Linked DNA regions of Homo sapiens: regions 1, 2, 3 and 4 are each linked to region 5. The links are contacts of gene promoters, found by promoter capture Hi-C in blood cells and fetal thymus (Javierre and others, 2016). All regions are on one chromosome and are shown on one strand. Each heading gives the region's core, a stretch centred on a gene start or on the middle of the fragment in contact. The rest is flanking DNA. Distances are from core to core; before and after follow the strand shown.

The links. Contacts are between HindIII fragments. The CHiCAGO score rates a contact against its expected background, and 5 or more counts as called.
Region 1: a fragment that was not itself captured here is called in contact with the fragment with the promoter of HAL in region 5 in 6 of 17 cell types (activated CD4 T cells, non-activated CD4 T cells, total CD4 T cells and 3 more); the score reaches 9.1 in activated CD4 T cells.
Region 2: a contact is called between a fragment that was not itself captured here and the fragment with the promoter of HAL in region 5, in 3 of 17 cell types (naive B cells, total B cells and naive CD4 T cells). The highest score is 7.4, in naive B cells.
Region 3: a contact is called between a fragment that was not itself captured here and the fragment with the promoter of HAL in region 5, in 2 of 17 cell types (non-activated CD4 T cells and naive CD8 T cells). The highest score is 6.5, in non-activated CD4 T cells.
Region 4: a fragment that was not itself captured here is called in contact with the fragment with the promoter of HAL in region 5 in 1 of 17 cell types (fetal thymus); the score reaches 5.3 in fetal thymus.

What each region holds. Positions count from the first base shown.
Region 1 is chr12:96,527,207-96,532,596 of GRCh38, reverse strand. CFAP54 (cilia and flagella associated protein 54) reads right to left here. Exons shown (of 68, transcript NM_001306084.2): 9 at 5,153-5,351. Among named protein-coding and RNA genes, the nearest start is that of CFAP54, 40 kb to the right of the region's middle. The HindIII fragment of the contact is 2,750 bases long and covers 988-3,737 here.
Region 2 is chr12:95,114,824-95,119,885 of GRCh38, reverse strand. The region is part of intron 8 of FGD6 (FYVE, RhoGEF and PH domain containing 6); the gene reads left to right. Among named protein-coding and RNA genes, the nearest start is that of NR2C1, 44 kb to the right of the region's middle. RefSeq lists an enhancer at 4,413-5,062. The HindIII fragment of the contact is 1,134 bases long and covers 2,808-3,941 here.
Region 3 is chr12:96,553,652-96,559,072 of GRCh38, reverse strand. CFAP54 (cilia and flagella associated protein 54) reads right to left here. Exons shown (of 68, transcript NM_001306084.2): 16 at 4,763-4,891; 17 at 4,271-4,397. Among named protein-coding and RNA genes, the nearest start is that of CFAP54, 67 kb to the right of the region's middle. The HindIII fragment of the contact is 1,582 bases long and covers 1,309-2,890 here.
Region 4 is chr12:96,509,245-96,514,836 of GRCh38, reverse strand. CFAP54 (cilia and flagella associated protein 54) reads right to left here. Exons shown (of 68, transcript NM_001306084.2): 5 at 1,793-1,851. Among named protein-coding and RNA genes, the nearest start is that of CFAP54, 22 kb to the right of the region's middle. The HindIII fragment of the contact is 6,696 bases long and covers 223-5,592 here.
Region 5 is chr12:95,994,003-95,999,710 of GRCh38, reverse strand. HAL (histidine ammonia-lyase) reads left to right here and starts at 3,367. Exons shown (of 21, transcript NM_002108.4): 1 at 3,367-3,633; 2 at 3,720-4,047; 3 at 4,718-4,778; 4 at 4,886-4,913; 5 at 5,547-5,621. The coding sequence starts at 3,801. It overlaps LOC102723340 (a long non-coding RNA gene), which reads right to left and starts at 3,229. Exons shown (of 4, transcript XR_945237.4): 1 at 3,081-3,229; 2 at 1,284-1,380. RefSeq lists enhancers at 960-1,019, 1,466-1,760, 2,985-3,154. The HindIII fragment of the contact is 1,685 bases long and covers 3,236-4,920 here.

The sequences.
Region 1 (5,390 bases), core at 1,113-3,612, 530 kb before region 5:
GAGGGATTAGGCTTAAAGACACAAAGAGAAACATCCCCTCTCCTCCATTTAAATGAGAGATAGTGGGAAAGGATCAATATGCATGAGGGTAAATTTGGGGGTTTGGGTGAAGAAAGTCAAGGAAATTCTTATCTAAAACTTGTATTTTTCTTAGGAAGAGAAGAGCCCAAACTATGGCACCAGAAGTTCCCTGCATTCAGATGGGCATTCGCATACACATGTGCACCCACATGTGCCCACACCCACACACTAAACTCACCTAAAGGCATAGGAGCTAACCCTAGGCTTTTCTCCCTCCTCTCAGGTGGACACTAAGGCCAAGTCAGCTAATTGTTCCAAGAAGGAAAGCTCATGGGAAAAGAAAATTAAAAGCAAAAACATCTTGAAAGAAAAACCACAAATGAAGCATCCTTTACCACAAGAAGCAAGAAAATGGAAAAGCACAAACAAGAATTTAAGTGAAAGTGTTCTCTCAGAAAAATAAAAGAGGATATTAGAAACATAAGGCAAGAACAACTGCTGTGAAAAAAGAACCAAGTGGATTCAATGTATAAAGTACATCATCATTGATGGCCGGGTGCGATGGCTTATGCCTGTAATCCCAGCACCTTGGGAGGCCAAGGCAGGCAGATCACCTGGGGTCAGGAGTTTGAGACCAGCCTGGCCAACATGGTGGAACCCCATCTCTACTAAAAATACAAAAAATTGGCCCGGCGTGGTGGTGCACACCTGTAGTCCCAACTACTCGGGAGGCTGAGGCAGGAGAATCGTTTGAACCCAGGAGGCAGAGGCTGCAGTGAGCTGAGATCGTGCCACTGCACTCCAGCCCAGGCAACAGAGCAAGACTCTGTCTCAAACAAACAAACAACAAAAATAACAAAAAAGTATATCATTGTTGAAACAAATAATTAAATAGGTAAACAGAAGAGTAGAACAGAGAGAATCAAAGATGAAATTCGTGACCTGAAAAATCAGATAGAGGAAGCTTCCCAGAATGCAACAGAATAAAGACATGAAAAGAATAAAATAAATAAGACATGGAGGATGAACATCTATCCTGTTAACATCTGTCTAATGGCATCTTCAATGCCTTGAAGGATTTTTTTTTTAAATAATGAATATAAGGAAAGAAATTTAAAAGTAACATGAAAAAATGAAAGAAAGATATGACCTCAAAGTATCTGCTGCATTACTAAACCCACCCCTAGATCCAGTAGAATAAAATGTAAGAATGTCATAAGAAAGAGAAAATTGTAAAAGATACATCTATAAAACAACAAGATTTAAACTGACATTACACTTCTCAACAGAAACACTATATATACAAGATTATAAAAAAGAGCATCAAAATCTTAAAGAAACTTGTAAGTAAACTATTATATCCAGCCAAACTACTTCAAAATTCTTAGAGTTTGTATTTCAGCAAAAAGAAATGAATTTAGAAAGAAGCAATGAAAAATGGGAAGTAATGATGAGGAGAAAAAAATCTTAATAAAGGTATTTTCTGTCTTAAAAAGCAATGACCAGGACTTGTATTCAGAACATAAAAAGAGCTCTCAAAACTCAAGAGAAATAATTAACAATCCAATTAGAAAGTGAACAAAAGACACTAGAGAAAAAGAGAGTATACAGATGGGAAATAAACACATGAAAAACTGTTTAACATCTTTAGCCATTAGGGAAATGCAAATTAAAGTCACAGTGGGATATTACTACACACCTATCAGAATGGCTAAAATAAAAAAGTAATGATACACCAAATTCTGTCAAGGATGTCCAGAAACTGGATCATTTACACATTGCTGGTGGAAATATAGTAGAGTCACCCTGGAGAATAGTATGACAGGTTCTCACAAAACTAAATATGAACTTATCATATATCCAATCCAGCAATTGCACTGTTGAGCATTTTATTCCAGAGAAATGAAAACTTACCTTCACACAAAAACTTGTACTCAACTGTTCATAGCAGCTTTATTTCTAGTAGCCAAAAACTGGAAATAATTCAAATGTCCTTCAAAGGGTAAGTGGTTAAACAAACTGTGGTGTATCCATACCATAAAATAATACTCAGCAGTAACAAGTGAAAAAAAATTTTTTTTGAGACAGAGTCTTGTTCTGTCCCCAGGCTGGAGTGCAGTGGTGGTGGTGTGATCTCCATTCACTGCAACCTCTGACTCCTGGATTCAAATGATTCTTTTGCCTCAGCCTCCCAAGTAGCTGGGACTACAGGCACATGCCATGACGCCTGGCTAATTCTTGTATTTTTAGTAGAGACAGAGTTTCGCCATGTTAGCCAGGCTGGTCTTGAACTCCTGGGCTCAAGGGATCAGCTCGTCTTGGCCTCCCAAAGGGCTGGGGTTACAGGCATGAGCCATGGTACCCCGCCAAGTGAACTATTAATACACACAACCTGGATACATCTCAAGAGAATTATGCTGAGTGAAAAAACAGACAACACACATACGGCCACCTAATTTATGACTAAGGGATACTGCAGCCAACTAAAGGAAGTTATCTTCAATAAATGGTGCTGTGTCAACTGAATATACATATAGAAGTATATAAATCTTGATTTCTACTTCGTATAAACAAAAAAGATCTAATTTCTAATTATAGACCTCATAAACTTAAGGAAGAAACAATAAAACTTATGGAAGAAAACATACGAGAATATATTTACGACATTGGGGTAGCTGAAACTTCTTAACCACAACACACAAAGGATCAACTATATAGGATATATTGATAAATTGGACTATATTAAAATTAAGAATTTCTGTTCCCCAATGGATATCATTAAGAGAATGAAAAGGCAAGCCATCAAGTAAGAAATGATATTTGCAATACATGTATTCAATAAAGGAATTATATCCAGAATAGATAAAGAATTCCTATGAATCGACAGAAAAAAGGACAAAAGGTTAAAATAGGCACCTCACAAAATAGGATATCCAATAGTGAAAAAAGTATATGAAAAAGTGTTTAACTTTATTAGTCATCAGAGAAATTTAAGTTTATACTGCAACACCACTGAATTCACACCAAAATGGACAAAATGAGAAAGACAGATAATACTAAGTGTCAGAGAAAATTTGGAGTAATGGAACCCTGATAAAATGTTGATGGGTGTGCAAACTAAAAAAAACCACTTTGTAAAACAGTATCCAATGAAGCAACATGGGAATATCCCATGCTCTTGCAATTCCACACCAACAGAAATGCATAGCAGATGTTTAACATATTTCTCTGAGTAATTCATAAAATAAAAAGACAAAAACTATCAGTAGGGATAGAGAAGATCTAACCACATGATTTACTAGCTTAACTTAATCAACATATATATAAAGCAATGCATCCAACAACAACAAAAAATACATAGTCTTTCAAGTACACACAGACTATTTACCAAAGCTGGTCATGTGCTAGGCCATAAAGCCTATCTTAACAAATGTTCACAGTTCCAAATAATACATAATGTGCTCTCTGACCATAGTATAATTAACATAGAAATCAGTAACCAAAAGATAATTAGAAAATCTCCCATATTTTGGTTCAGAACCCATATATCAAAGAATAAATCACACTGCGTATTAGAAAATATTCTTACTCCAATAGTAATAAAGATATGATATATCAAAACTTCAGATACATAGCTAAAGCTGAATTTAGAACAAATGTCTTAATATGCATTTAATGTAAATAATAACAAATCCTAAAAATCAATGATCTAAGCTTCCAAGTCAATAAGTTTTTTAAATCAGTAAAGCAAACCCAAGAAAGTATAATAAAGGAAGTAATGAAGAGCAAAAATCAATAATATGGAAAATGGACATACAATAGGGAAGATCAACAAGGTCAAATATTGTTTCTTTGCAAAGACTAATGAAACTGGTGGACCCCTGGTGAAATTGATGAAATAAGAGAGAAAGCAAACTGACCAATACTGAAAAGAAAATCTGAAAAATTTTATATCTATGGAGGAAATTGAATTCATCATTTAAAATATTGCCATACAAAAAATTCCAGGTACAGATGGCTGCACCAGAAAATTCAACTAAACATGTAGGAAGAAATAACACCAATATGACACAAACATTTACAGATAATGGAGAAAGAGGGCATACTTCTCAACTCATTTTATGAGGCTAATATGACCTTGTGAGCGAAACCTAAAAATAACATTACAAGAAAGAAAAGTCTCTCCCTTCAACAGAGAAGCAGAAATAAGCAATCCATAAAATCAACCACATTAATAGAAATAAATGAGAAAGCCATTTGATCGACTCAGTAAATCTCAATAAATTCAGAGAAAGCTTTTGCTAAAATTAAACTATTCAAGATTAAAAACAACAACAAAAAAAAACACTTAGCAAACCAGGAATACAAGAAACATCTGTGATCTGCAAAAGGGTATCTATAAAAATTATTCTGTAGATATCTCAAATAATGGCAAAATGTTGAAAGCTTTCCAACTGAGGAAAAAAATGAGACAAAGGAGTCTGCTATCACCACTTCTTCCCATGTGTTATTGGAGATCCTAGCCAGTGCAACCATCAAGAAATGCAAGAAAAGAGAAATTAAAAGATTAAGGATTGGACAGAAATAAGTCATTCATAGATGACTGTATATACAAAACAAGTCCCCCCAAAAATCTACTAATACATTATTTGAAATATCAATTGACCTTAGCAAGGTTTCTGAATTCAAGATCAATATAAATTATATCAGCTTGGCACAGTGGCTCACACCTGTAATTCCAGCACTTTAGGAGGCTGAGATGGGTGGACTGCTTGTCCCAGGAGGTCGAGACCAGACTGGGAAACACGGTGAGACCCCGTCTCTACAAAAAATACAAAAATTAGCCAGGTGTGGTGGCATGCACCTGTAGTCCCAGCTACTTGGGAGGCTAAGAAGGGAGGATCACTTGAGCCCAGGAAGTTGATGCTGCAATGTGAGCCATGATCACGCCACTGCACTCCAGTCTGGGTGACAAAGAGAGACCTTATCTCAAAAACAAACAAACAACCAAACAAAAAAAAAAAAACAATATAAATGTTATCAGTTTCCTATGTATGGACTACCATGTTAAAATTTTTGTTACTCATGTGTATCATTCTATCATAAAACAATATCTTAACATCTTATTTACTTATCAAAAGTTCTTTTCCTGCCATAAACAATTCTGAGACAACATCATGAATCTCCACTTCATCTGTAACAATGGGTCCAGTTTGCAGTATTCGCCTATTTGAATCAGAAAGAGCTTCCAAGACAGCCAGAAACTGGGATGCAGTGCTATCAAACATCTCATCCAGTAGCCGCTCTGTGACAGTTCGTGGCCATGATAACTGAAATTGAGAAAAAAAAAAGTTCAGTCCATTTGTTAA
Region 2 (5,062 bases), core at 2,125-4,624, 880 kb after region 5:
TGCAGTGGCACAATCTTGGCTCACTGCAACCTCTGCCTCCTGGGTTCAAGCGATCCTCCTGCCTCCACCTCCCGAGTAGCTGGGATTATAGGCGTGTGCCACTACCCCCAGCTAATTAGTAGAGACAGGTTTTTGCCATGTTGGCAAGGCGGGTCTCAAACTCCTGACCTCCGGTGATCTGCCCACTTCGGCCTCCCAAAGTTCTGAGATTACAGGTGTAAGCCACCACACCAGCCGACAGTGCTAATCAGTGTTACTTATAAATCCAAACCCATTAACTTACAAAAGTAAAAGAGGACAGTATTTATAATTATGCCTGGACAGCAGGTATAAGGCAGGACTATATGGGGAGATAAGGTTGTATTGCCATCCTACTTATGTAAATAGCCAAAACAAATTAAATGCACTAAAGAGCTAATAGAACACCTAAGTACTGTATGATATACCCCTAGGATGGTTTTTAAGTCAAATCAAGCATTTATAAAAACAAGGAAATAGTTTAGTAATTGTTTTTCTCAGAGATGTTCATAGTTTAAGTTTTCCTCATTATTTAATTTTTCAAATTTTTCATTTTTTATTTTATTCAACAAAATATGTTTCATGATATTTTGGAATGAGAATCGTTACAGTTTTCATTCTGGTTCAGCCTAGTTATTTTATGCATGAGGATATTAACACACAAAAATGCTATGGGGCATGGCCAAAGTCCCATGCCTCAACTAGATGTGGCTGGACCAGGCAGAGTAAGCATTTCTATCTTTATTATTATTATCATCATCATCATCTAAAGACTTAGAGATGGGTCTCACTATGTGCCCAGGCTGTATCCTCCCACCTCGGCCTCCCATAGTGCTGGGATTACAGGCATGAGCCATCGCACCTGGCCCAGGAATTTCTGTCTTCTAATTCCAGAGCAAGGGCTCTTGACCACTTCGCCAAGCTGCCTTGAAGTGTCAGTATGTTTTGTAAGTTGACACTTGATGCTTGTTTTTGGTATTTAAAATGATCAGTACTTTGTTTCACAAGTCAGGCTAATTTTAGGTTGTTTCTTGCAAAATCTGAAACTTCATAAAACTTTACAAAGTCATATTGACTAGACTTACTTTTCTCTGGATCCCATAATTCTGTATGTGTTGCTGATCCCACTACATATTTATGGAGGAAAGAAGAAATCTGAAAAATACAAAGCAAGACATGTCCTCAAATTCAAAACACTTGACTTTGGAATGTTATCCCTCCTATACACTCATTTCCTCTGTGCTTTGCTGCCAAACATTTCTCAGTGCACGGTCCAGGAATCTGACTGGGTGTTGAATGCAAAAAGTCCCAGATTCCCACAGATGACTAATTTTTATTAATGGTTAACAGGACTTCCGACTAGTTTCTGCTCTAAGTTGGTTATGTATTGATTAGGTAATCAATGAGTGGTGGTAAGGCTCCCTGGGAACCCTTATACAGAAAACTTAGATTTCCAACAAGATATAGTATATATTGGGTCCTCATCCTTTCTCTCTCTCTCTTTCTTTTTTTTTTTTTTGAGACAGAGTCTCGCTCTGTCATCCAGACTAGAGTGTAGAGGTACAATCTCGGTTCACTGCAAACTCCACCTCCTGAGTTAGCAATTCTCCTGCCTCAGTCTCCTGAGTAGCTGGGATTGCAGGTGCCCACTACCATGCCTGGTGAATTTTTATATTTTTAGTAGAGATGGGGTTTCACTATATTGGCCAGGCTAGTCTCAAACTCCTGACCTCAAGTGATCTGCACACCTCAGCCTCCCAAAGTACTGGGATTACAGGCATGAGCCATTATGCCTGGCCGTGGGAATTTGTTATTGTTGTTGTTCTTGAGACAGAGTCTTGCTCTGTCACCCAGGCTGTAGTGCAGTGGCACGATCTCAGCTCACTGCAACCTCTGCCTCCCAGGTTCAAGCGAGTCTCCTGCCTCAGCCTCCTGAGTAGCTGGGATTACAGGCATGCGCCCCCATGCCCAGCTAGTTTTGTATTCTTAGTAGAGACAGGGTTTCACCATGTTGGCCAGGCTGGTCTCGAACTCTTGACCTCATGATCCGCCCACCTCGGCCTCCCAAAGTGCTGGAATTACAGGCATGAGCCACTGCGCCCGGTGGCCTTGGGCATTTTATATGAGAACAAAATTAACTTGTACTGGCACCGTGGCTCACACCTATAATCCCAGCACTTTGGGAGGCCAGGGTGAGAGAATCACTTGAGTTCAGGAGTTCAAGACCAGCCTGGGCAACATAGTGAGACATCGTCTCTACAAAAAATCAAAAACTTAGCCCAACGTGGTAGTACAGGTCTGTTGTCCTAGCTACTTGGGAGGCTGAGGTGTGGGACAGCCACTTGAGCCTGGGAGATTGAAGCTACAATGAGCATTGGTCACACCACTGCACACTCCAGCCTAGGCAACAGAGCGAGACCCTCCAAAAAAAGAAAGAAAAAAAAAAGGCAGCTTGCATATCCCTAGAAGTTGCACATAGTATGTTGTGTTCCAGTTAATTTTTTGCTACTCATGTTGGGTGATGGTGATGGAGTTAATTAACTTTTATTAATCAGTGATGCCACCTGGTGGCCAGAGAGTACATTTTGTAGTGTACCTACATGCTGAACCAACATCTGCTTTTTTTTTCCTTTGATAAAAATAACCTCAGTGGCATTTGAGGCAGTTTTATTAGTGAAGTTTTGAATAATGCTCAATTTGTTTTGGCAGGAGCAGAAAGGTCATAGAATACTACCAGTCTAACATGGCAAACTGAAATGACTGCTCTCCTCGTTGTTATTAGGAAAGCTTCTGCCGAATACCAGGTCCTAAGTGATAGGTAATAGGTGGTTCACTATGACCAATATAGGCGTGTCTGTCTGGTCTCCTTTCCTGGGTTTCACCTGGGTTATAACAGTTACTGGGGCAGCTACTGGTTTCCTGTTCCTCCCATCTGACTCAGGGTGATCAGTCACATTCTTATGCTGCAGTTAAGGCCCCAGGTGATTCTTAACTGTTTAAGGAGATCCAGGCCCTGCTCTCTTTGCCAAGGTAAAAGTTCTCAAAAAGATATACTGCAAGAAGATGCCCTAAAAACATGAATGGATGGATGGATGGGTTGATGGATGGATGGATGGATGGATAAGTTGGAGAGTTGGATTTTGTAGACCATAAAGATATTTTTAAAAATTGGCAAGGAGGGTAAACCTAACTCCGTTACTTCCTTGATTAATAGCATGATGTTGCAACGTGTTAACGGTGGGTTTTCTGCTCAGTGTATTTCAACTGTGTTCATAAAAGTTCATGTTTGAGTACAAGCAAAGAAAATGCAACTTAGAAGTTTATGAGGCTCAGCACAGTGATTCTGAGGTCAGGATTTCCTAATATGGACATCTTCTGGGGAGCCCTTTTGGTTTAGAGAAATGTCTCTGTTTTCATGGATATACTTCTGTATTAAAAAACAGAAATTTAAGACAAACTAGGAAGTCGCCATGAGTCCAATATTTAGGTAAATCTGCATTCCTTCCCACAACAAGATATAGTAACTATCTAACAGCTTAAGGAAAATCACTTGATTAATGAGGTAGCTTAGGGTTTGAGAACATCTAATAGGGAGGGTAGGGTAAGTTTGTCTCCCCAACCCTGTCAACTGTCAGCCATAGAAATGTTAAATGTTTGCACTCACCAGACACGGATTATGTAATATATTGAATGCATTCTGAGTGGGGTCAGAGTGAGAATATTTATTTTCATCTCCAGATGGGGCTAAGTGTAACATATAACTTATGTATTTTGTTAATTTGGGAATTTTTTATTTTTTGTGTGTGCCCACTTCATTTTTCCTTTATATTTTGCGGGGGATGCTCTCTTCATTCAGATTAAGATCTAAATTGCTAGCGATGGTCTCTGGCAAGATAGAACCTATGCCATGGCGCAGGGAAGCTTAATATGTTTATACATAACATCTCACCATGGCTTATTGCCAGTGCTGGATATTTATAAGGTGCACGTCTAGACTCACACAGGCTCTTAGATCACTGTCTCAAAGACTTACGAAGTTTCAGCAATTGGGCGCGTGTTTGTGTCATCTGTTATGTTTGAAGATCTGGCACCAATACCCCTGTTTTCCTTTGTTCCTCTGAGCATGATGTCATAAATCCATGAGATGAAGTTGTATCTATTCCATAATAGTACTAACTAGCAGTTGGGTCTGATAAAGATATATTCAGTCACTGAACACACCTTTCCTCCTTTCATTTCCTCAGTTCCCACTGGCATTAGAATTGGTTTCAGCATTTATTGCCTTTTACCTCAACTAAAATACAATCCTATCTAAAAAATAATATATTCTTGGCCAGGTGCAGTGGCTCACTGCCTGTAATTCCAGCACTTTGGTAGGCTAAGGCAGGAGGATTGCTTGAGGCCAGGAGTTAAAGACCAGCCTGGGCAATAAAGCGAGACCCTGCCTCTGCAAAAAAAAAAAAAAAAGCAGACATGGAGGCACACACCAGTAGTCATAGCTATTTGGGAGGCAGAGGCAGGATGATTGGTTGAGTCCAGGAATTTGAGGCTGTAGTGAGCAATGATTGCAGCACTGTGCTCCAGCCTGGACGACAGGGTGAGACTCTGTCTTGAATGAGTAAGTGAACTGTTTTTATTCAGTAAGCATTTATTGTCCCCTTTGTGCAAAGCCCCTGACTAAGTGCTATGTGAGAGAAAGATGTGTCAGATGACTTGCTCACAAGGAGCTTTGAGTCTAATGAAAAAGAAAATGATAGAAGCATAAAGTGAGACTGCTGTGTCATGTGTTATTCAAAGGCAGAAAACGTTTCTTTCAAATGGAAATTTTGTAAGAGAAGGGGCATTTAAGAAGAGCCTTGAAGAGTGTGAGTAGAATTTGTATAAGCGAGACAGAGGAAGGGATGGAGAAAAAGGGACTATTAGAGACAAAAGGTGTGAAGCCAGGGGGACACATGGGGAGTGTTTAAGGGGTTGCACAGATCAAATTTAGTCAGAACAAAGGGCCCATTTTAGGCAGTAGCAAGAGAGAGAGAAAAATTGATAG
Region 3 (5,421 bases), core at 850-3,349, 560 kb before region 5:
AGCTGATTTTTGTATTTTTAGTAGAGACTGGGTTTCACCATGTTGGCCAGGCTGATCTCAAACTCCTGACCTCAAGTGATCCACCCACCTCTGACTCCCAGAGTGCTGGGATTACCAGCATGAGCCACAGTGCCCAGCCTTACTTCGCTGATTGTATCCTTTGCTGGGCAGAAGCTTTTTAACTTGATATGATCCTATTTGTCCATTTTGCTCTGGTTGCCTGTTCTTAAGGGGTATTGCTCAAGAAATTTTTGCCCAGACCAATGTCCTGGAGATTTTCCCCAATGGTATCTTGGAGTAGTTTTATAGTTTGAGGTCTTAGATTTAAGTCTTTAATCTATTTTGATTTGATTTTTATATATGGTGAGAGAGAGAGGGGTCTAGTTTCATTCTTTTGCATATGAATATCCAGTTTTCCCATCATTTATTGAAAAGACTGTCTTTTCTCCAGTGTATGTTTGTCAAAATGAGTTCACTGTAGGTGTGTGAATTTGTTTCTGGGTTCTCTATTTTGTTCTATTGGTCTATGTGACTGTTTTTATGCCAGTACCATGCTGCTTTGGTTACTATAGCTCTGTAGTATAATTTGAAGTCAGGTAATGTGATTCCTCCAGTAAAGTTGTATCCTGCAACTTTACTTAATTTGTTTATCAGTTCTAATAGTTTTTTGTGGAGTCTTTGGGGTTTTCCAAATATAAGATGGTTATCATCTGCAAACAAGGATAATCTGACTTTCCAATGTGGATGCCCTTTCTTTCTTTCTCTTGTCTGATTGCTCTAGCTAGGACTTCCAGTACTATGTTGAATGTTAATTCTTTTGTCAACCTAGGAAAACTTTCAATTTTTAAATTACCTTTGAATATTTTATTTTATAAATACAAAAATATATTTATCATGTATGTATGTTTTAAATCACATTAATATCATGAACACATGTAAACCACCACCCAGCACCAGAACTGGAACATTAGCAGTAACTTACATCTACCTATATGCTTTTCCTTCCTACGCCATCTCCCTGCCACCTCCACAAAGGAACCACTGTCCTAAACTCAAGGTCATTCTTTTTAATTTTATAGATAGAGAGTGTCAATAAAATCTGGAAATGCAGATGAGTTATACATAATGTCTTCAAAGGACATATGTCTATGTTTCCAGACTTTATGGACTACCTGCATACCTGATAACTATAGTTTTCCTTATATGATAAATTTATGTATATGCAGGTCACTTTTTAATATACAGTTTTATCAATTATTACGTTACTTATTATATATAATATATAATAAGCCTTAAGAATCCCAAGCTTTCATTTTTGAGCTTGATTTAAAACATCCTACTGAATGTAGTCTTTCATTTTATTTTTTTCTGACCCCATCCTCCCATCACACTGAATGTAGTCTTTTAAAACTTACTGTTTTAAAACAAAAATTATGTTTCTAGAATTCATCCACGTTGGTCATTTTCATTGCCATGTGATATTCCCTTACATGAATATATCACAGTTTCTTTATCAATTCTCTATTAATGGACACTTGGGTTGTTTCCAGTTTTTTGCTATTATGAACACTGCTTCTACAAGCATCCTTCTATCTGTAGTTGGTGTACACGTTCAAGAAATTTTACAGGGTATGTACCTATGAGTGACATTGCTGGGTCATAATTTAGATTAATGTTTAGCTTTACAAAATAATTATATTGGCCATAACTTCTTCCTTTTCTATGAAGTTCTCCTTCTTTCTTTTGCTTATTGTCTTGTTATTTGTCTTATTATTGATGTTTTGGAATTTTTGTACATTGTTCATGCTAATCGTTAGTAAATTGCCACTAGACAAAGAGATGGCATGAGAAGGAAGATTCAATTGGTCATCGTTGCCTTTGAAGATAGAAAGTGGTCATGAGCCAAAGAATGCAGGTAGCCTCTAGAAGCTGGAAAAGACAAGGAAACAAGTTCTCCCCCAGAGCCTCCAGAAAGGAATACAGCTCGGTTGACACCTTGATTTTATTATTTAACTTTCGCTTTAAGTTCGGGGGTACATGTGCAGGTTTGTTGCATAGATAAACTCATGTCATGGGAGTTTGTTATACAGATTATTTTGTTACCCAGGTATGAAGCCTAGTACCATTAGTTATTTTTCCAGACCTTCTCCCTCATCCCACCCTTCACCCTCAGAAAGGCCCCAGTGTCTATTGTTCCCCTCTATGTGTCCATGTGTTCTTATCATTTAGCTCTCGCTTATAAGTGACAACATGCAGTATTTGGTTTTCTATCCCTGAATTAGTTTGCTAAGGATAATAGCCTCCAGCTCCATCCATGTTCCTGCAAAGGATATGATCTTGTTCCTTTTTATGGCTGCATAGTATTCTATAGTGTGTATTTACCATGTTTTCTTTATCCAGTCTACCATTGATGGGCATTTAGGTTAATTCCATGTCTTTGCTATTGTGAATAGTGCTGCAATGAACATACATGTGCATGTGACACCTTGATTTTGGCTCAGTGAGCTGCAGTTCAGGTTTCTGACTCCAGAACTGTAAGATAACATATTTGTGTTGTTTCAATGCACTCAAGTTTGTAGTAATTTGTTACAGCAATAATGGCAAACTAATACAATTGTGAAAAATGTATGGGGGACTTGGAAGGGAAAAGCAAAAGCATTTAATTTGAAAAAAAAAGAAAAGAAATATAAATTGCAAATATTTCTCCTAGGTGTGGTGTGGTTTTGGGGTTTTATTTTTATTTTTTTTTTGCTTTCCTTATCTTTAAAATTTTTTGATGATGAGAATTTATTTATATTAATGCAGCCAAATGTATTAATGTATTCATTTTTTTCTTTTAGGATCAGCACTTTTTGAATCTTGTTTAAGAAGATCTTCCCTACTCCAAGCTTAGAAATATATTCTACCATATCTTCTTCTAAAAGTTTTTAAGATTTTTTTTTTACATTTAACTCTTTGGTGCATCTGGAAGATATTTTTGTGTATGGGAAGGTAAGAAATGTAATTTGGTTTTATCCATATGGATATCCAATTATCCAATGAATATGAGGTATTCTAGCACTTTGAAATAAATCTTGACTTATGTTAGAGCGAGATCCCCTACACTCACCTGATTTTTTTTTCCTTCAGGAATGTCTTAGCTATTTATGTCTTCTACCTACATTTTGTAAAAAGATTGTAAAGGTCTACCCAAAAAAATCCTACTGGAATTTTTATTGAAATTGCATTGAGTCTATAGATCTATTTGAATAAAACTGAAATCAGAATAATCTTTCTGATTATTTGGTCTTCTTATCAATAAACACAATCTACCTTCATTTATATAGTTCTTTAACATTTTTCAGTAAAGTCTTATAATTTTTTGCATACTTGTAGCTCTTTGGTTAGATTGAAACCCTTGGTACCTTACAGATTTTTTTGATATAAAAATGATGTCTTTTTATTATATTTGCTAACTGCTGTTGTATAGAAATATAATTACATATTATATATTACATATTATATATTATGTATTATATATTATTATTTTTGTATATGCTGATAGATTCTTTTGCATTTTCTAGGTAGACAATCATATAATCTGGAAAGAACAGTTTTGTTTCTTCTTTTCCAATCCTTATATCTTTATTTTTCTTATCTTCTTGCATTGGCTAGAATTCTCAGTATAAATATTTTTTTCATCTTCCTGCACCAATCAGCAGTGTGTCTACACTGCTCACTCTTAAATTAACCAGCATTTGAATAAATCTATTTAGCTCTATATACAATATTATTTGAATGCTTTACACGCCCCTGCCAGGAACTCATCTCTGACTTTCTTATTTGATATAGATATTTCTGTGTGCCCATAATACTCTGAGCCCACCCCTATTACAAAATGTATCAACCTCAACTGATATGGTTGGCTTACTCATCTAGAAGCTCAAAAGTAGACTGTCTTATTGGCACCTAGCCTAATACGATGCCTGGATTTTAGTAGGTACTCAGTAAATGTTTGCTTGGTTGAATTAACAAAAAATAATTTACTATAACACAAATAAACATAATTAACTTTTTAAGAAGTTTACTAACTGATTTAATATGCAAAGTGTAAAGCAATAAGGAAAGATTTAATTATGTTTTTATTGATATTAATTAGGGAAGTAGAAAAAAATGAAATTTATCTGAAAACTTAAGTCAACAAGAACACAGTTTTCAAATTAAATTGATTCTGTACTGGAGTCTGGCTTAAAATTGATTCAGAATGGTTACTTGCTTTAGTGACTACTACCTTGCAATTTGTCCAGAAGCACAACAGCTATTCGATGCTGAGCTTGAATTAGTTCAAGATGCAAATCCATCATGAAACTATTTGAGGCAAGTGGTTTGTAAGTATCTCCATCTATATGGTGGGTACGCTTTGGTCCAACAGAGTTGAAATAAAAAGAAATATAGTTATCAAAACACACAAAAATAGCTGTATACTATTATCACTCAAGTTATCATCATCTTATTTGTAACCATTACATTCTGCTCACTTCTCAGCCCTTTGCAGTTTGCTTAAACACTAATAAATATGCCCTTAGAATTCATCAGTGTCCTCTTCATTAACAAATTCAAAGACTCCTCATTCTCCTAGCTCTCTTCTGGGAAGAGGGAAATATATTTCTGGCCTATGAGAGGTAAGCCAACACAAGTCATGCTTTACTTACCTACTTTCAAGGCCAGTTTTCTTCCCAGTTAAGTAAAACTTCAATCTAATTTAAGACTCTTCCATTCTTACCTTGGCATAGCAGTGGTCAATTACTGATGATCCATTTGGCAAAGAGGTTAACATGCAATTCAAATTTATTCCACCGATTGCTCTGTCAAGAAGTTTATAAGCAAAAAGTAACTGTTCCACAGGATTTTTCTAAAATAATTTTATAAACAAAAAAGAAAAATAAAACAAGGGAAAATCAAATGCAACACTTCCAATTTTTGACAATAATTCAAAACCACATAACAGAAATTTAAATAGTCTATCTAACACTAACAATGTTATGTCTCTAACTACATGTATTTATCTGTGACTAAATGTGGAGTGCTATCAATATGGGTGACAATAATAAATAAATTTCACCATTTTTCCAAATACAAATTAAACCTTTCACAAACATGTATTAATATATATAACTTCCATTTATGGTTTGCATAATTCTGATTGTACTAAATGTACTGGTACATTTTTAAAAGAGTTCACATAGTTTGTCACTTTCATATACCTAATTTGAAAAAGATTTTTTAAAACAATTTCAGAATCTCAGACTAGAAATTTAGTCCATCAACCCAACAGTCTATATTAGTCTACATCATGATTTTCAAAAACTAAACACTTTTTAATGTAATCATTCTCACAGAGAGACAAATATAGAGAATAATGTAAAGAGCAACCAGCTTTGC
Region 4 (5,592 bases), core at 2,321-4,820, 510 kb before region 5:
ATAAGATTAGAATACCTATTTAATCAGCATGGCAAAATACTCAACTATCCTTATTTTATCAGAGACAAACTCAAGGTATATGAGGCAGAGAAGAAATGTCTTACAAAGGTTATGAATAAGAAATTATTTTAAGATGACTGTCACTTTAAAATTCTCTCAGTGTTAACAAGCACAAACACTAACAGTCAAATGTCGGCACAGACATTTCTGCCCTTCAAAGCTTTGGCAGCAAGCACTGCAGCAGACCAAACTATGATGGTCCTGTGAAGCCATGTTTGTTGTTGTTACACCAAGCGCAACCAGAGTATGCAAATTCTCTTTAGGAAATCATCTGGAACTGAATGTAGCATCATTGCAGTAGTCTGCGGGCCAAGTTTACATTAGGCCTGGGAGAGTCCCCCCTCAATTTAATTCACACTCAGAAAGCTGGCACAGAGCTTCTTCAAGTCACTGTCTGTCATAGAGTTTTTTAATTTGAGAAGCAAAACAGAGAGAGAACACATAATTAATGTTATCCATTGAGCATGCAAATTTCTTTACTTCCATTTTTATTTTTCAGATGTTGTCAACTTTTAAGATACTTGGCTATGCTTTGAGGAAATAAGAAAAAACATATCTCTCCTGAGTGTTAGAATATTCAGGGTAAGGTTCTGTATGGAATAAAGAATAAAGTAGTCATGTTTCAGATGCCAGCAACAACTCAAGCAGGGTCTCAACGGGAGTATATTCGCCCTTCTTGGCCTACATTCCAATAACTGGAAAACTAATACAGGGAATAAATATGTCTCCCGTGGACAAAAATGCTACCAACATTGTAGGGAAGTCAATAGAAGTGTCAGCAACTTCCTCAAGCTAACACTGAGCAGTGACTACTGGTAAGTAAGAATCTTATTATAAAATAAAGTCTCCTTGCCTTTGTCATGCAACTGGGTTAGAGTTTAAGTGTGCATTCACCCGATTAGCATGCAGGCCAGAAGTGGAAGCACTTCAAGCAGAATGAAATCCAAGCTCCGTATCATGACATAAAGGGGGTAACCATAGTTTATCATCCAAACCAGGACACCTTTTTTTAATTTTCTATTTTTTTTTCATTTGAGACACAGTCTTGCTCTGTCACCCAGGCTAGAGTGCAAAGTGGCACGATCTTGGCTCTCTGCAACCTCCGCCTCCCAGGCTCAAGCAATCTTCCCACCTCAGCCTCCCAAGTAGCTGGGACTACAGGCATGTGCCACCAGGTCCGGCTAATTTTTGTATTTTTTGTAAAGACGGGGTTTTGCCATGTTGGCCAGGCTGGTCTCAAACTCCTGGCCTCAAGTGATCTGCCAGTCTAGGTCTCCCGAAGTGCTGGGATTACAGGTGTAAGCTACTGCACCCGGCCCAGGCCACTTTTACTAGTAAAAGTGGGCACTACTGATAATTACTAACAGGACAACAGGCATAAACCGGGACTTTCCTGGGCAAGCCAGGACGGATGGTCACCCTACCTAAAGCTATAGCAACCAGATGGATGTTTACTATCAAGCGTGACAAGCATGACTATCTGAGAGACAGAGAATACTAACATTTTCAGGAATTTCCTTTCTTTTCATTAAATCATCTATATTTTTACATATGATCCCTATTAAAGCAAAACTAAGAATAATAAAGCTATATAATATATATTTACTAAATTTTATATTATATAATTCTCCAAATATTCCTTGTTTAACATTCAATATACTGTGTAATGAAAGCCTTAAGAAAAATAAAACAGGAAATAGAGGGGAAAATATTTTGTCAGTACATTTCATACCTTGGAAGACTGACCTATGACCATCAGTTTTCTGCAAATGGTGTAAATATAAATGGTACCTGGATGGAGAAAACGATTGTTAACATGTTTTACAGTCAAATGATAGAAATTTTATATTCCAATTTCTGTGGTTCAAGTCTGTAGTTCCCAAAACAAGTGATCTTATGAGGAAGTCTGATAATGGTATATAGAGTTATACTCATCATAATTTTTCTTGTAACTTGTAAACAAAATCATTAAAATAATTAACATGGCCGTATTTTAAATATGTTGACACAGGAATCTTCTAGTCTCATTTTACAGGCCATTTAACTTTTGAAGTATAATGAACAAAAGAATAATTCTAGTGGCATAATTTATGTACCCTGTGCTTTCATTAATTCATATAAAATATTACTGGTTCCCAGCTGTGTACAGTGGCTACGCCTGTAATCCCAGCACTTTGGGAGCCTGAGGCGGGAGGATCACGAGGTCAGGAGCTCAAGACCAGCCTGTCCAATATGGTAAAACCCCGTTTCTACTAATAATACAAAAATTAGCCGGGCGTGGTGGCATGCACCTGTAGTCCCAGCTACTTGGGAGACTGAGGGAGAAAAATCGCTTGAACCTGGGAGGCGGAGGTTGCAGTGAGCCGAGATCATGCCACTGCACTCTAGCCTGGGCGACAGAGCAAGACTCCATCTCAAATATATACATATATATATATATATATATATATATATATATATATATATATATATATAAAATTGGTTCCCATGGTTTCCTTATCATTTAAAAACTAAAGATTTATCTCCAAATAAGATCAGAATACATATTTAATCAGCATGGCAAAATACTCAACAAGGAAACTCATAATAATTTAAAAATCATAATGCATAACAGGGCACGTTATATTCACTCTCAGACTCATATAACATTTTTCCTATTATCAAGGTGTGTCCTACTAGCATTCTAGTGAAAAAATAGCATTTCCAACACCTAAGTAAGGACACATGCTTTTGTGTCAGACCATTAATTAAAAGAGGATAGAAGGCTGGAGGGAGGGTTGAAGAGAGGAGTGGGGAACATCACCATACTTCTCTCTGTATACAAGCAGTTTATCTATCTATAAACATACCCAAAAGATGGTAGCATGCTTTAAAAAGGCATGTAATTGTAACAGATAGTCTAAATATTTTCTATAAAGTATCTAATATTCGTAACCATAAAAACTCAACAATTATGAATTCTATGTTCAGGTTTAAACTTTTAAGTTTCTGATGGCCAGGCGCCGTGGCTCACGCCTATAATCCCAGCACTTTGGGAGGCTGAGGCAGGCAAAACACCTGAGGTCAGGAATTCGAGACCAGCCTGGCCAACATGGAGAAACCCCATCTCTACTAAAAATACAAAATTAGTTGGGCATGATGGTGTGCACCTGTAATCCCAGCCGGGCGTGGTGTCTCACACCTGTAATCCCAGCACTTTGGGAGGCTGAAGGGGGCAAAACACCTGAGGTCAGGAATTCGAGATCAGCCTGGCCAACGTGGAGAAACCCCATCTCTACTAAAAACACAAAAGTAGCTGGGCGTGATGGTATGCACCTGTAATCCCAGCTACTCAGGAGGCTGAGGCAGGAGAATTGCCTAAGCCCAGGTGACAGAGATTGCAGTGAGCCAAGATTGCGCCATTGCACTGCAGCCTGGGTGACAGAGCGAGTCTCCATCTCAAAAAAATAAATAAATAAAAAGTTTGTGAGAAAATGGCAACTGCACCAAAACATCTATTACTTGATTAGAACACAACTATAAGCATAATAAACATCAATTACACAAATCAGTGACCCCCAAAATTGAATAAAATTTAAATTTAAATGTATAGTACCCTAAATTTCATAGAGAATGCAATTGGTCCTTAACATTCAGGGACTTGGCATTATTCATGTGACTACCCCCAGCACCTGCAGTTATTCATTCCACTGAAGATCCACTGGGGAAGAAACCACTCGACTAATAACAGCTCAAGCTCAGCAGACTTATCTCAACGAGGCTTTGTTGACCTCTACTCTTCATCTTTTTCATTTCTTTTTTTTTTTTTTTTTTGAGATAAGAGTCTCGCTCTGTCACCCAGGCTGGAGTACAGTGGTGCAATCTCAGCTCACGGTGACCTCCACCTCCCGGGTTCAAGTGATTCCCGTGCCTCAGGCTCTCAAGTAGCTGGGATTACAGGCGCTCGCCACCACGCTCAGCTAATTTTTGTATTTTTAGTAGAGACAGGGGTCTTGCCATGTTGGCCAGGCTGGTCTCGAACTCCTGACCTCAAGTAATCTGGCTTCCCAAAGTGCTGTGATGAGAAGCGTGAGCCACCATTCCTGGCCTCTACTCTTCATCTTTAAAAATAAAACTGTCTAAGTGTTTCTTTGCAGGAAAAAAAAATAGTCACCAAGTAAAAATATGCACAGGAAACACATGCCTGTCCAAAAAACATGTGATGAGGATGTAAGCCAGGAGCCTGTATAAACATGCCAGTAACGGGGAACTGGGGAACTGAGGAAGGCCTCAGGAGACTGCCCTCAAGAATGACAAGGGCCCTCTGTATTTCAAAAAGGTGCCTTTCACCTTTCCAGCACTAAAATGTTCTGACTGTAACTAAGTCCTTTGACAGTTCAAGATCTTGGCATGGCTCACAAATTCCTGCTGCAAAAGCCAGACTCAGAGAGTAAATGGTATCAGATGGAACACAGACTGAATCTTTATGATCTCAGGGTATTTCTGGAAGTTTATTTCCTTTGTTCTTTTTTTTTTTTTTTTTTTGAGATGGAGTCTTGCTCTGTTGCCCAGGCTGGAGGGAAGTGGCATGATCTCGGCTCACTATAACCTCTGCTCCCCGGGTTCAAGCAATTCTCCTGCCTCAGCCTCCCAAGTAGCTGTGATTATAGGCACACGCCACCACACCCGGCCAATTTTTGTATTCTTAGTAGAGATGGGGTTTCACTACGTTGGCCAGGCTGGTCTTTCACCTGGGCCTCCCAAAGTGCTAGGATTACAGGCGTGAGCCACCATGCCGGGCCTGTTTCATTTTTAACCAAGTCCCTAATAGGAGTTTATTGCCTGGTCTTGTGAGTCCTTTTCATTAAAAATGGCCACCATCAAAATAATCTAGTTGAGGGTCTAAATTAGTTGGGTTCACTTTAGTTGAAAAGTAAGGTATTACTTAATATCCATATACCCAATTAGATTTTTTTTTTTTTGAGATGGAGACTTGCTCTGTCACCCAAGCTGGAGTGCAGTGGCATGATCTTGGCTCACTGCAACCTCCGCCTCCCAGATTCAAGCAATTCTCCTGCCTCAGCCTCCTGAGTAACTGGGATTACAGGCATGCACCACCACACCCGGATAATTTTTGTACTTTTAGTAGAGACCCAGTTTCACCATGTTAGCCAGGCTGGTCTTGAACTCCTGACCTCAGGTGATCTGCTTGCCTTGGCCTCTCAAAGTGCTAGGATTACAGGTGTGAGCCACTGTGTGCAGCCTAAATTTTTATTTAAAAACCAAGATTGGTTAAATATTTGAAGAAACCAAGAGTGTGTATGTATAACAGTCAATTAAAAGTAAATAGAGTAAATGTCTAACTGAAAAGGTCAAATGTATTTTGATAAGTTATCAAGGCACATTTGACATTTTCAGTCAAATATAGTTTTGACTACTTAAATTCCAAACTGTCAAAACTTCAGGGTCTTTGCACTTGCTGATCCCCCAGGTGGAATGCCCTTCCACCAGATACCCAGAAGTTTCACTATCCAAACTCCTTCAGGTCTTTGT
Region 5 (5,708 bases), core at 2,118-4,617:
AGCTTTACTGTTACAAATAGCTCTGACCACATGGGGAGGCTATCACAATTCCAAATTCCCAGAGGTGAGACTCTAACCCAGGTTGGGTCCACCTCTGGTCAAATAAATTGTGTAAGAGGAATGGTGTCTTAGAGTATAATTGTTGGCATGGGGTGGGGGTGGGGAGCGGTGTCCTGACCAAATAACCCCTCAAAGTGCTAATGCAGTGACTAAAGTTACAATAGGAGTGAACACCCAAGGTGGGACAGGTATGGAAGAGACATATTCCTGCCTATTCCCGGAATCCTGACTTTTCCCTGGCTCTCACTCTCCCTAGCAGTTTTTGTTTTGTTTTGTTTTGAGACAGGGTCTCACTCTGTCGCCCAGGCTGGAGTGCAGTGGCATGACCATAGCTCACTGCAGCATCAGCCTCTGGGTTCAAGCCATCCTCCCACCTCAGCCTCTGGAGTAGCTGAGACTACAGGCATGCACCACCATGTCTGGCTAATTTTTGTTTTGTAGAGAAAGAGTTTGGCCATGTTGCCCAGGCTGGTCTCGAACTCCTGGGCTCAAGCAATCCACCCGCCTCGTTCTGTCCTCTTGGTCACTTATCTATGCTGCAGTGTGATTCTTTCTCCAGGCTCTGCTCTCCCTTGCCTTCCTTGCCAAGAATACAGAGAAGGGAGTTCAGCTCAAATCACTGGCATAAGATCATGTTCTAAGATTAGACTTTAGCAAATCCATTTACCCAAATACTGCTCTTTAAGGCTTCTGCCCTATGAGCTTACAAGACAAGCTGTAAGTTAATGTCGTTTTTAGTTATCACTTAGTGATACTGAAAGTGAATTGTGACAAGGGATGCTTGAAGGGTGGCATGGAAGGGTGCTGTGAAGAAGGTAGAGGGCGCTAAAGACAAACTTAATCCTGCTTGCTGGTTTACCTAGGGGCCAGCTCGGTGCAGTTCACATTTCTTCAGTTCAGCTAGTAAGCATATGCTAAATGTCTTTGTGCCAGATCGGATATATACATAATTATGGATGAACACAGACAAGTAATTTCCTAGATAATACTAAAGAAGAGCTATGCTAAGGCATCCCAGAGAAGGGCCACTTAACCCAACTGAAGAATTTAGGGAATGCTTCCTGGAGAAGAAAAGGCCTAAACAGGCTTAAGGAGTAAGAAAGATCTAGACAGGCAAAGGAAGTTGGAAAGTGCGTTTCTGGAGAAAGAATAACAAGGAAGACTCTGCTCCACAATGCGTAGGGCCTGAGTTTAGAATCCTCAAACTGCTGGGGGTGACTTACATGGCTGGGAGGTGGTATCACCTGGAAGCTCCTTCCCTCACTAGTCTGATGCCTGGGCTGAAATTACTCAGAAGCTGGTCTCGGCAGTGACAGTCAACTGGAGCATGCAGTAGTTTGGGTTGTTTTGCAGCATGAAGATAGTTAGACCTCTTATTAGTCATCTTTATACAGCTTTATCCATCACCAGACAGTAAGCCTCATGAATGTAGAGCGTGTTTGTTATTTATTTCATCCCCAGCACCTCGCATAGAGCTTGTTACATAACAGGTGTTGAAAAAATATTTGTTAAATGAGTCAAGGAATGAATGGGGGGGGGTGGGGCAGAAGGTTAAGGTGGTTCACATGTGCAGTCCTCAGTTTTCTCACAGATGTAGGAAGTAAGGTCTCCTTCTGAGAATTAGAGGTGGATGTCGAGAAGGTCCTGGCAGAGGGGTCAAAGTTTTGGAAAGTCACTGTGGGCTGGATGGAATAAAAGGGCAATACCATCAAACTATGTGATCACAGGACTTTCTCTATCAGTGTCTTCTGCCTGGGTGAACAGATATGACAGTTTCTTTTAATTTTAAACAGGGTCTTGCTCTCACCCAGGCTGGAGTACAGTGGTATAATCATAACTCATTGCAGCATTGACTGCCTAGGCTTAAGCAATCCTTCCAAGAGATGGCTGTTTTTTGTGATGACTAAGGGGATGGGTGTTATTCCAAGTGTAGACATAAGTTTAGGGATGCAAAGGAATCTCAGAGTGCTTAAGAAAGAGTGGTCCAGTGAGCGACTAGGGACCAGCTTCCTAGGATAGTAAGTGAGGATGCTGGTGGGAAGTGGAGGGATGAAGAGACTGACTGGAGGTCAGGTCCAAGGCTGGCAGTGACTAGAGTAAAAGGGCAGCTGGAAGGTTGTGGTCAGAAGGTGGAATATTGGAATTTCAGATTTCTTAAGTGTGTCAAATTCAGGTCGTGACAGATTCCAGGGTGATTTCTTAAGTGTGTCAAATTCAGGTCATGACAAATTCCAGGGTGCAGTCATGGTGTGGGTATCTGAAGAGCAAGTTTCAATAAGGCTCAAGGAAGGGTAGCTATTTGTACGCTTCCTGGGAAGCTGTCAGCAGATGAGAGGGACTCTGGGTATGAGTATAGGTGTTTTTCTTGAGCAACCATGTCTCTCTTCCCAACAGAAGTCTGATTTAGTGGAAACAGACTTTTCAGGATTTTTCTAGTGCAATAATCAAATCTCTAAAAATTGGCTTACGATGAAAGTGCTGCTTAGTCAAAATAGCATCTGCATATCTTTGATGCCGTAATCATGCTATCCAGAGTTCCTTAATACCAATGGTAATAAGGCGGGTGCAGGGAGCAGTTATCTGTGGTGAAGAAGCTTAATTGGGTGAGGGATATCCATGTGCCAAGATGAAAGAGCATTTATGGAACTTTATAGCTTTATGATTCATACAGAACATTTATAAAGCATTATAGTTACATGGAGTATTGGTGTCCAGATACTAGTAATCACAGACACTTCTATAATATTTCCACTATGCCAGGTGTTGTGTTGAGGGCTTTACATATATGAACTGACTTCATCCTCCCAATAGCCCTTTGACATATATACTATCATCATTACCATTATCTTCATTTTACAGATGAGGCAACTGAGGCCCAGAGAAGTCAAATCACTTGCCCACAAGTCATACACTTAGCAAATGGCAGAGCCAGGATTTGATCACAGGTAAATCCTGCACATACTGGAAGGAGGCAGTTAGCCCCTAGGCCTTCTGATAAGGAAATACAGGGTAATACTCACCTAATCAAGGCTAATAAGTAGTAGAGCTGGACTCTCATCCACGGCTGTCTGAGCCCCTAATCTCCAAGTCAGAGTGGTTCATTTGCCCAGATGACGACCTTTAGTTGTGAAAATGATCTCTGGCCTTTGCAGTCTTCCCTGGTGGAAAGAAAGCTTCAGAAAACCTTACTGGTGACAGGAAGTAGTTGCTCAATACATGTTTGTGGAATAAACAAATGAGTGACGATTGCCACACTCCCAGTGTCACAGTTGGCCCACAGAACACGTTTTACAGTTGAGTAATCTCAGATAAAGACAGGAACATGGTGTTTATAAGCTGCCCTTAATGGCAGAGAACACAGACAGAAACGAGGGAAGAGAGAGAAATTGGGGACCCTGAAGAAAGGGGGCCAGCAGCAGGTAGGTGCCATCAGGGACAAGAACAGCACCTCCCAGGGTGGGAGACCCCAGGCCTTTCTGGCAGCAGGTCTGGATGGAAAGTGGACAGGAGGCTCACCCGTCTGCATCCCCTGCTCCTGCCCCTGCTCGGCTACAAAAACCAAAGGGACAGCAGGTACCTCAATAAATATTTGTCCAATGCATGAATGAGTAAAGGTGAAGGAGGGGGAGTGGTTTGAAAGTCTATTCTCATCCTTCCAGCTGACCACACCCCGGTAGCCACTCCTGCATAAAGCTCTCCCCTCCTGTGACCAGCTGAGGACCTCAGGCTGCAGCGGAGCCATGCCCAGATACACGGTGCACGTACGTGGGGAATGGCTGGCAGTGCCCTGCCAGGACGCGCAGCTCACTGTGGGCTGGCTGGGCCGGGAGGCCGTGAGGCGCTATATCAAGAATAAGCCCGACAATGGTGGCTTCACCTCCGTGGATGACGCGCACTTCCTTGTGCGCCGGTGCAAGGGCCTGGGCCTGCTGGACAACGAGGACCGGCTCGAGGTGGCCCTAGAGAACAACGAGTTCGTGGAAGTGGGTGAGTGGCTGCAGGAGAGGGCCGCGAACGGGTGCGGTTTGGCCTGGCTTAGTCTTTGCAGCATTGAACCCCCACCTCAGGGAAAATGATGAGCAGAGGTCAGGCTTGCCGAGGCTGGCCCTGTGCAGGCACATGCCACGCCTCTGGGGATCTTAAGTCCTCACACAACCCTGTGAGATGGGTAGGATTCTCCTCCACCTCTGATGGAGGAGAAATCAGAGAGGAGGTAACTTACCCAGACTCCAGCAGCTAGTAAGTAACAAAGACTAGACTGGTACTCAAGGCTGCAGGTCTGAATCCCTTTGCAGTGACTGAATCATTTTGAGGTTATTTTGCCTTTCGAAAGAATCCACCCCCACCCCCAGACTGGAGGCCGGCAGCATAGCATCAGTTCAGATTTTGAAGAAAATAAAGCTGGGAATGGGGATGGAAGTGGAATTCTGTCTTGAACTTTCATCTAAACCCCTGGTCTCTGCCCTGACACCTACCTTTCTGCTTTTTGCTCTCCTCCTACATAAAGATGCTAAGACCACATGAAACCATCTGAAGCAGTTTTAAAGCAGCCATTTCTATAGAATTCATGGGCCAATGATGGGCCGTTCCTTGGTTTAACAGGGGGAACATGGCTGTACAATGTGATCTGTAACGAGTCTCCCGTGCATTGTTTTAGTTATAGAGGGTGATGCCATGTCTCCTGACTTCATTCCATCTCAACCAGAAGGAGTTTATCTGTATCCTTTCCCACAGGCTCTTTGGTCTGCTCTGGGGGTGGCTCCTGCAGATGGTGGGGCTGGGGGTTTTTCCACACCACCCTATATGTTCCTTTACCTGGATACAGATACAGCAAGTACCGGGAGCCTGAAAAGGTAAGCTTCAAACCACTTTCTTTTTCTTCAGAAAATTAAGGCCCCTTATTTAAGAGGGAGGAAAGCCAGGAAAACTTCTGAGAAAACACTGTCAATTAGAACAGGGCTGGCCGGGAGCAGTGACTCATGTCTGTAGTCCCAGCACTTTGGGTGGCCGAGGTGGGCAGTTCACTTGAGGTCATCAGTTTGAAACCAGCCTGGCCAACATGGTGAAACCCCATCTCTACTAAAAGTACAAAAATTAGCCAGGTATGGTGGCGTGCACCTGTAATACCAGCTACTCAGGAGCCTGAGGCACGAGAATTGCTTGAACCCAGGAGGCAGAGGTTGCAGTGAGCCATGTTTGTACCACTGCACTCCAGCCTGGGCTGGAGACTCTGCCTCAAAACAAACAAACCAACCAACCACAGGGCTTTATCCAGCTCTGTAGTGGGGAAAGGGGGCTTGGAAAGGCATTATGCTTTTGCACCAATAAGCCTCCTCTTATGCAAGATGCATTTTTATTTAGCATATTCATGTTTCACGCAATGATCAGATCTCTGAAATGTCAGTTTGGTTCTGTTGGAGGTGTCCCTACTCTGGTTAGAATAATCAAGCTGTTCAGACTCACTGAGATCCCCTTCTTTTGTGTAGTACATCGAGTTAGATGGAGACCGTCTGACCACGGAGGATCTGGTCAACTTGGGAAAGGGACGCTACAAAATAAAGGTATGGGGAGGGAGGGGAAAGATGTCCTCTGGCCATTTTTGTTGCCCGTGGAAGTCTTTAACGTGCTCAGTTCTGATCAACATTTTC